3 separate regions of the Homo sapiens genome follow, and all the other regions are linked to region 1. Evidence: promoter capture Hi-C in 16 types of primary human blood cells and fetal thymus (Javierre and others, 2016). All regions are on one chromosome and are shown on one strand. Each heading gives the region's core, a stretch centred on a gene start or on the middle of the fragment in contact. The rest is flanking DNA. Distances are from core to core; before and after follow the strand shown. Region 1 holds the start of OS9 (OS9 endoplasmic reticulum lectin). Region 2 overlaps GLI1 (GLI family zinc finger 1). Region 3 overlaps KIF5A (kinesin family member 5A).

The links. The method cuts DNA at HindIII sites, captures the fragments that hold promoters and counts their contacts. A CHiCAGO score of 5 or more calls a contact.
Region 2: a fragment that was not itself captured here is called in contact with the fragment with the promoter of OS9 in region 1 in 1 of 17 cell types (total CD8 T cells); the score reaches 5.2 in total CD8 T cells.
Region 3: a contact is called between a fragment that was not itself captured here and the fragment with the promoter of OS9 in region 1, in 2 of 17 cell types (M0 macrophages and M1 macrophages). The highest score is 5.3, in M0 macrophages.

What each region holds. Positions count from the first base shown.
Region 1 is chr12:57,692,779-57,695,566 of GRCh38, reverse strand. OS9 (OS9 endoplasmic reticulum lectin) reads right to left here and starts at 1,435. Exons shown (of 15, transcript NM_006812.4): 1 at 1,244-1,435; 2 at 641-817. The coding sequence starts at 1,405. RefSeq lists enhancers at 1,195-1,244, 1,232-1,806. The HindIII fragment of the contact is 11,057 bases long and covers 1-2,788 here.
Region 2 is chr12:57,470,389-57,473,176 of GRCh38, reverse strand. It overlaps GLI1 (GLI family zinc finger 1), which reads right to left. Exons shown (of 12, transcript NM_005269.3): 12 at 909-2,788. The coding sequence ends at 1,116. It overlaps ARHGAP9 (Rho GTPase activating protein 9), which reads left to right. Exons shown (of 18, transcript NM_032496.4): 18 at 489-908. The coding sequence ends at 660. Among named protein-coding and RNA genes, the nearest start is that of ARHGAP9, 8.1 kb to the left of the region's middle. The HindIII fragment of the contact is 4,786 bases long and covers 1-2,788 here.
Region 3 is chr12:57,563,408-57,566,195 of GRCh38, reverse strand. KIF5A (kinesin family member 5A) reads right to left here. Exons shown (of 29, transcript NM_004984.4): 2 at 2,670-2,757; 3 at 2,503-2,576; 4 at 1,984-2,088; 5 at 1,688-1,736; 6 at 1,223-1,278. Among named protein-coding and RNA genes, the nearest start is that of KIF5A, 15 kb to the right of the region's middle. The HindIII fragment of the contact is 4,556 bases long and covers 1-2,788 here.

The DNA.
Region 1 (2,788 bases), core at 186-2,685:
CACTTGTGGTCTTTCCATTCCTCCCTTTTAAAAGATTTTTTAAATCCTTATTTGCCCTCCATAAAGATAAGAAATTATGGTATCCCTGAAGCAATTATATTAGGGAAACATAGAAGAACCCAAAATTAAATATTAATTGAACTTCTTGAACATTCCTGGCACTGTTCTGGCCACTGGGAATACAACTGTGAACAAGATTAATTCTTTGACCTCATGGAGTTTACACTCTAATGCGGGGAATCAGACCGAAAATAAACAAACTGATTCAGTAAATATGATTTCAGATCATGAAAAGTGCTACGATGAAAATAAAACAGGATACTGGAGCAGAGTGATAGGGCAGGGGGTGACTTTAGCAAGTAGGCTTAAGGAAGTACTCCTCCTACCCCACGCAGACCCTCAATCTTGCTTTAGCCCTTTTCTGAGATCTTCTATCCTAACCTGCTCCTACGTTCAGCAAAGTGTCATCAGTGGTTGCAGGATTCTTTGCTTCTTTCCTGTCCGTGTAATCTGTCTACTCCTCCAGTGGTCTTCTTAACCACTACAGGTCCCCTAGATCCTGCCTCATTCAGTGGACTCCAGTTCTTGGATGAACTGCTAGTTTCCAAGCCCTCATTCTATCTAACCCAGTCCCTTTCACCTTCAGCAAGCAGGGAGCATCTCTCATTGGGCTCAACAACTCAGGGATCCCAGGCCCTTGGTAAGCAGGTGTTTCCTCCTCCCTTTCACGCTGGAAGTGAATAGCTCCAGCTGGCAGGCGACACTCATAGCGCTGTTTGTACTTAGAGGAGACAATCACCACGTCCGAAGATTGGCTCTGGGAAAGAAGGGAGGGTCGGGGGGCAAGGAAGCAAAGAAAGGCTGGGATCAGGGAGAACAACGAAATCCCTCTTCAAACCCTGGGGAAGAGATCAGTCGAAGACAGAATAAGCCATAAGCCCTCCAGCTGTATTTAGTGGGTGAGAGGAGAGGGCGCTCCCATTTCTCCACGGGGGCGGAGTCCGGGTGTTTCGATCATAAACTGAGACCTGAAGGTTGACAGCGGGAAGCCCCACCTCTCCCAATTCCTGGCCCCCAGAGAATTGGTCTCAGTCTGCGACCCCCAGGGGTCACCGTAAAAGCAATACCTACTCTTCCCGATTCCCCGTAGGCTCCAGCCCCAGACTCCGGAGCTGCCCTTCTTCCTCTATCTCTTACCCGCTTCCTCTTCTGCCCAGACCCTCGCCCCTTATACGCCTCTCACCTGCCCTCCCATGACAGGCAACGGCAGGATCTCGATCCCATAACGCATCTCACTCAGCTCCTCCAGGTTCAGGCTCCCGACACCGCCGGTCAGACTTGCGGGTAACAGGAGTCCCAGAAGCAGCAGTCCTAACAAACTGGACAGCAGCGTTTCCGCCGCCATCTTTCGTTCCCCTTCTTATGCAGAGAATCTGTTTCCGCCCTAAGCCAGGCAGCGGCCTCAACACGCCCATCGGCGCCACATGATTTTATTGGCTGTACGTTCTATCCCTCCCACGTACCCTATTCCTATTTGTAAACGTGGCTCCAAGGTCCTGGGGAGGTGGATCACGACGATTAGAAATATCAATCGCTGTCCGTGATTGGTCAGAGACCAGCCAATCATCGACAAGATCAAACCCCTCCTCGTTCCCCAATTTCAGAGGCGTGGTCTATGCGCTTGGTCCTTTTAAGTTTGCCCTCTGTCTTCGCCCAGCTGTCATGCGCATCTCATTGCTTTTTCAGACGTCTCTTGCATTATATCCTGCCCACCGCCGGGCGGAGTATTGAGGCAGATAGGTAGCGTGCGCAGTGCCGGTGAAAGTTATTAAATGCTTGTTGCAAAACAAACAATTATTATACGGACGCTTACCTCTTTTCATATATACATATTGCTTTGAGGCAATCAGAAAATTTGTGTCAAAACCTTCCTATACGATCCTGCAGTTGACCTCCAGTAAAATGACCTCCAGTAAAAATCCTAGAGAAATAATGCGGGCAGCCAGACGTGGTGGCACGCACCTGTGGTATCAGCTACTCCGGAGGCTGAGGCAGGAGGATCTCCTGAGCCCAGGAGTTCAAGTGCAGCCTGCGCAACACAGCGAAACCCCGTCTCAAATAAGTACGTACATACATACATACATACATACATACATACATACATACATACATGCATACATGGGCTTCCAGTTAAGGTGAAATTATGTATTACTCTCCAGGCCGTAAGAAAGGGAAAGGAGACAACAACAGCAACATTTTGGAAGCTGGAAATCAAACAGAAGAATGTTAACTGGTTTAGCAAACTTGAGAATATTTATTACGAAACAAAGGTAAACAAGAGGCTGATTATACCTTTGGAAAACCCTCTCTGGGGAATCTCACCAGCCAAAACGAAAAATCCCAAAGATACCCTTATCAGAGTTCTCTTAATGATATAGATAACTAGAATGAATTCCACATGTAACACTTTGGCCTACGTGCCCCAGCCCTCATTCCACTTTCCAATCAGCTTTTTAGTGTTCTTACTCTTCAAAATAAATAGCCAGAGATCATTAGACATTTAAGGAAGGACTTTAATATACAAGTAAGAAACAAACAAGAAGGGAAAAGCAAATGAGAGGAAACATAAATTGCAAGGGAGGGGAAAAAACACTAAAAATAAAAAATTTAAAAATAGGCCGGGCACGGTGGCTTACGCCTGTAATCCCAAAACTGTGGGAGTCCGAGACGGGCGGATCACTTGAGGTCAGGAGCTCAAGACCAGCCTGGCTAACGTGGTGAAACCCCG
Region 2 (2,788 bases), core at 211-2,710, 220 kb after region 1:
CCTCCCAAAGTGCTGGGATTACACCGTGCCCGTCAAAGACTTTAGGTCAAAACCTAAAGGTCAGCATCAAGTGGGGAAATGGAACCAAGATGCTGTGAAAGGAATAAGGGAAATCTTACTTCTCCCTTCCCTCTGCCTCTTTGTCTCCCATTGGGACATTGCTGATGGCTTCTTTGGTTGAACTGGGCCTGGGCAGTGACTTCTGAGAGAGGATGGCCACTTGAATTAAAGACTCCCAAACTGTGAGCAGGCAGAACTCTTGGGGCAGCCCCTGAAGTCGGAAGAGGCAGTTATATCTTCAGGTTGTATCCTGAAGGTTTCTCCACTGGTCCATCTCCATTCTCCTTGTATCTCCTTGGTTTTTTTGTTACCATGTGGAGGAATCCCAGAGTGAACTCTTCCCTGCTCAGAACTTTGAAGGGTTAGTTAGATTGCTATGAAGTGGCAAGCTGCTGCCATATATCCCCTTCCTTGGCCTTTGCTTACAGGGTGATAGCACACTCAGATAAGAATCGCATGACACCCCACAACCTGGGAATTGTGTTTGGACCAACCCTGTTTCGGCCAGAGCAGGAGACATCTGACCCAGCAGCCCATGCTCTCTACCCAGGGCAGCTGGTCCAGCTGATGCTCACCAACTTCACCAGCCTCTTCCCCTGATGCAGGGAAGGAAGAAGAGAAAACATATTTCCGGTCATCTCTGGTGGTGAGAGGCTGGTGTTCTGTTTTGAGGATATCCCTTTAAATCTCCCAAATGACTGTCTCTATCTTCATGAGTGTGACTTGAGGTGTTGGGATGGGTGAGGGAGCTTCTCTAAAGAGGAAAGTGAGTGGATTAACCCCTGCTTCTCTTCTTGTTCCCTGTTATCATTCCTCCCCAACATAATAATACATAAAGTGGCATGGTATTTTTTCTGATGCAGTTCCTTTATTATCAGGAAACAGTGTCATTATCAAATTTCTCCTCAAAACGTATACAGACTATACATAGCCCCCAGCCCATACCTCCCATCCCTGGGGCATCTTGTGCATGGGACTGCAGCTCCCCCAATTTTTCTGGAAGGATAGAAACCCCTTAGGAAATGCGATCTGTGATGGATGAGATTCCCTACTCTTTAGGCACTAGAGTTGAGGAATTCTGTTTCCCCAGGTAGGGATCTCAGTAAGACACTCATGTTGCCCACAGCCATGTTGGGGGGCCCAGAGGGAGGTGGGGTATGTCCAGAGCTGCCCCGCTGATCATGGGAAGGAGGAGGACTCAGCCCCTGGGGCTCATCCAGAATAGCCACAAAGTCCAGCTGAGTGTTGTCAAGATCAAGAGAGTCCAGGGGGTTACATACCTGTCCTTCGGGAGGAGGGTACAAGGCAGGACCCCCTCCTAGCCTGCCCACCTCAGGATGACCACAGCTGGGGTTTGTGCCTCCCACTTTGAGAGGCCCATAGCAAGTGGGCAATGGGGGCAGAAGTCGAGGTGGTGCTGCTGCCCTATGTGAAGCCCTATTTGCCCCCACTACAAAATTTTCATGGCATGGTGAAGGGGTGGGATAGGAACCTGACTTGTGATTGGGCAAGTTGGGTCCAAAGCCAGGTCCATATGTGTTCACTGGAGCTTTAGCACGGCTTGGGCTAACCTGGGAACCCCCCAGAAACTTGGGACTCTGGTAGGAAGGTTCCTGGGCGGGGGCATCTTCCCTGCCCCCACCCTCCCACAGTAGCTCCTGTTGAGATTGAACATAATTACACACAAGCTGAGCCTTGAGCTGCCCTGTGGAATGGGTGGGGGAATCAAAGTCCAGGCAAGGCCTGGGTTCTGAAGGAAGATAATCAGGGGGTGGCTGGGTATAGGGGCCTGACTGGAGATATTGGGGAGGAGAGGGCTGGGGGTAATGGGAAAAGAGAGGCTGTGGATGTGGGGGCCCCTCACTGGGGTGGGCATTGAGGCAGGGTGCCAGTCCTGTGGAGTCAGACCCCACTGGGCACCCCTGTTCTGGCTTGACTTGCACTTGTCCATAATGTTCAAGTCGAGGACACTGGCTGTAGGTTCCACCTAGAGCCTTGGGGCCTGGGTACAGCCCAGAGTGGGAAGGGAACTCACCCCATGTTTCTTGGGTGGGGTCAGGATATGAGGCCTGCTGGGGACAGGGGTTGGGGCCATAGTTGGTGGGTGGACCAGGCCCAAGAGGCAGAGAGCCTGGACCCCTCGCTCCATAAGGCTCAGCTGCTGCCCCTTCAGGTCCCCCATATCCCAGAGTATCAGTAGGTGGGAAGTCCATATAGGGGTTCAGACCACTGCCCACCATGGAGGTCCCAACTTCTGGCTCTTCCTGTAGCCCTCTAGCATCCATGGCAGCATTCTCAGTGATGCTGGGGGGCTGTGGTGAGTAGACAGAGGTTGGGAGGTAAGGATCAAAGTTCTGTCCTCCCCCTGCCACAGTGGGTGGGGTATGGACACAGCCCAGGCTCTTGAACCTCTGGACTCTAGCTGGAGCAGGACGGTCAGCAGCCTGGGCTGGGTCACTGGCCCTCCGGGTGACCCCTGCATTGGGGTTGTATCCTGGATACTCGGCTCGGCTTCTCCAAGGAGGCATGGGAAGACCACCTATCCGATCCAGGCTGGATGCTGCAGTGGGCGAAGTACCACCCCCTCTGGCTGAAGCATATCTTGCCCGAAGCAGGTAGTGCTGGGCAGGCATAAGGCCAGGCAGGGAGGATGCTCCATTCTCTGGTGGGGAGCCAGGGGGGAAAGGAGAGGCCAGGGAGGAGCGGCGGCTGACAGTATAGGCAGAGC
Region 3 (2,788 bases), core at 133-2,632, 130 kb after region 1:
GAGGCAGAGGTTGCAGTGAGCCAAGATCATGCCATTGCACTACAGCCTGGGTGACAGAGTGAGAATCTGTCTCCAAAAACAAAAACAAACAAACAAAAAAAACCACTGTCTCTCTACTACACAGGCTGGAGTGCAGTGGCACTATCATGGCTCACTGCAACCTCAAACTCTTGAGCTCAAGCAATTCTCCCGCCTCAGCCTCCTGAGTAGCTGGGACTACAGGTGTGTGCCACCATGCCTGACAAAAATTTTTTTTTTTTTTTAAACAAGAGACTCAGCATAGTGGCTCATGCCTGTAATTCCAGCACTTTGGGAGGCTGAGGCAGGTGGATCACCTGAGGTCAGGAATTAGAGACCAGCCTGGCCAACATGGTGAAACCCCGTCTCTACTAAAAATACTAAAATCAGCCAGGCGTGGTGGCACATGCCTGTAGTCCCAGCTACTCGGGAGCCTGACGCAGGAGAATCGTTTGAACCCAGGACAGGGAGGTTGCAGTGACCCTAGGTCGAGCCACTGCACTCCAGCCTGGGCAACAGAGTGAGACTCTGTCTCCAAAAAAAAAAAAAAAAAAAATTAGATTAAATAAGAGAGACGGGTCTTGCTATGTTGGCCAGGCTGATCTTGAACTCCTCAAGTGATCCTCCCACCTCAGCCTTCTAAAGTGTTGGGATTACAGGCATTTCTTCCAGTAAACTTTGATTTGCAAATTAAATTGCATGCACACTGACCAATGACCTTTCAAGACAGTATCTTTTCTTTTCTTCTTTTTTTTTAAAGACAGGTTCTCACTCTGTCGCCCAGGCTGGAGTGCAGTGGCGCAATCTCGGCTCACCGCAACCTCTGCCTCCCAGGTTCAAGAGATTCTCCTGCTTCAGTGTCCCAAATAGCTGGGATTACAAGCATGTGCCACCACGCCCAGTTAATTTTTTGTATTTTTAGTAGAAACGGGGTTTCACTATATTGGCCAGGCTGGTCTTGAACTCCCGGCCTCAAGTGATCCACCCACCTCAGCCTCCCAAAGTGCTGGGATTACAGGTATGAGCCACCATGCCCAGCCAAGACAGTATCTTTTCTGATCCCCTAGACTCTCCCTGGCCCCTAGGCACATCTCATTCCTCCAGGATATCCACCCTCCAACTTCAGGGTCACTGACCTATGCTCCTCCCCCACCAACATTCTCAATACACTGGCCCCACATAGGTGCCCCACACCCACTCTCACCTTGACAAATGGCACCCGGTTCTTGTCCTCGTGCACGGACAGATTTGTCTTGGTCACTGAATCAAAAGAATGCAGGGTAAGCAAGACTAGTACTTCCACCGCCCCCATCTGCACCTTGCAGTCAGCTCAGATGGTGGTTTTCTTCTCTGTGCTAAAGGAAGACTCTCCCTGTGAAGCCTAAACTCCCTGCACGAGCTGAAGGCTCAGTTCCTCCTCCTTCTCCTCCTCAGGGCTCCTGCTCCTCGGCCCCAGATCCTCTCGAACTGTTTATATGTAGTCCTTGGCTGCTAAGCTCATCTCCTGACCTTCTCAGTTTTTGGAAATTCTGGTAAACGGGGCCAAAAGACTTGGGTGCTGTGTGCCCTCTGCATCTCTTGTCAATTGGTACCTAATTCCAAATGCAATGTGAGCTTTCTTTTCTCCACCCTCCTCACACACCCTCATCCACTGGGACAAAACACTCACCATCCAGAAGGTCACGAATTTTGTCCAGGTAAATTTCAAAGTAAGAAACCTGGTTAAGAAGAAAGAAGGAGTGTGAAGTAAAGAGGGCCTATCTTAAATCTAGTTCAGGAATCCCATACTAATGTGACCTGCTCAAACGGTGGTGGGAGGAAAAGAACAGAAGAGAACATCTTGACAAAGAACTCTGGTAACCGGAAAGGGAGTCAAGTTGGGGAGCCCAGGCTCTTCAGTGGGAAGATTTTAGATCTTCCCCTCCCAGTCCCCATCTGAATGCCCAGCTGTCGTGCCCTGGTCACCTTGATGTGGAACTCAAGGTTCTCATCCATGGAGTAGATGTGGTTGAAGATGTCTCGGGCAATTCGAGGAATGATTCCCATCAGCTGAGGGTCGTGCAGCTTTCCCTGGCGAGTGAAGGTATTTGAGAGTGAAGCTGGGGCTCAGGGAGAATGAGACAACTCAGATGTATGCAGGTGAACACCAAGGCAAGAGTCAATAAGAAGAACATCCTAAGTTAGGAGATGGTCACCACCATGTCTGCCTTTTAGAGGAGCAAGGAGATAATTGAGTAGCCCTTTGGACTTCCATTGCTTTTCCCGATCAAAAGAAGACTGGAGTAGTGGAAAGGATGATCCACTGCAGTGGGTTGGAGGGATTCCATTAAACTTCCCCTAATATTGCCCTTCAGTTCATCCTCTGTACTCATCTATCTGCCTCTGGACCAGGCAATCCTTGATTCCTAGACCTTCCCCCACTGAGATTCCCTGATCTTCCATTAACACTCCTAGCCCCTCAACCACCAAAGCCAGAACCCTCACCTCCATGGTATGTGTTTTCCCTGAGGATGTCTGTCCATAAGCAAAAATGGTGCCATTGTAGCCAGCAAGGACATCTGGAAGAGACAGTAGAGAAAGAGTACTGGTGGAGATAGGTCGGGTAGGAAATGGGGTGCTGAGAAGAGACATTCTAAAAAGAAATCTATTACCTTTGACAATCTGCATGGCACATGCATGATAAACTTGCTCTTGAGTCGTGTTTGGGGGGAATACACGGTCAAAAACATATGGCTTCCCCTGGAATGAAAATAAAAGATATCAGACGTCA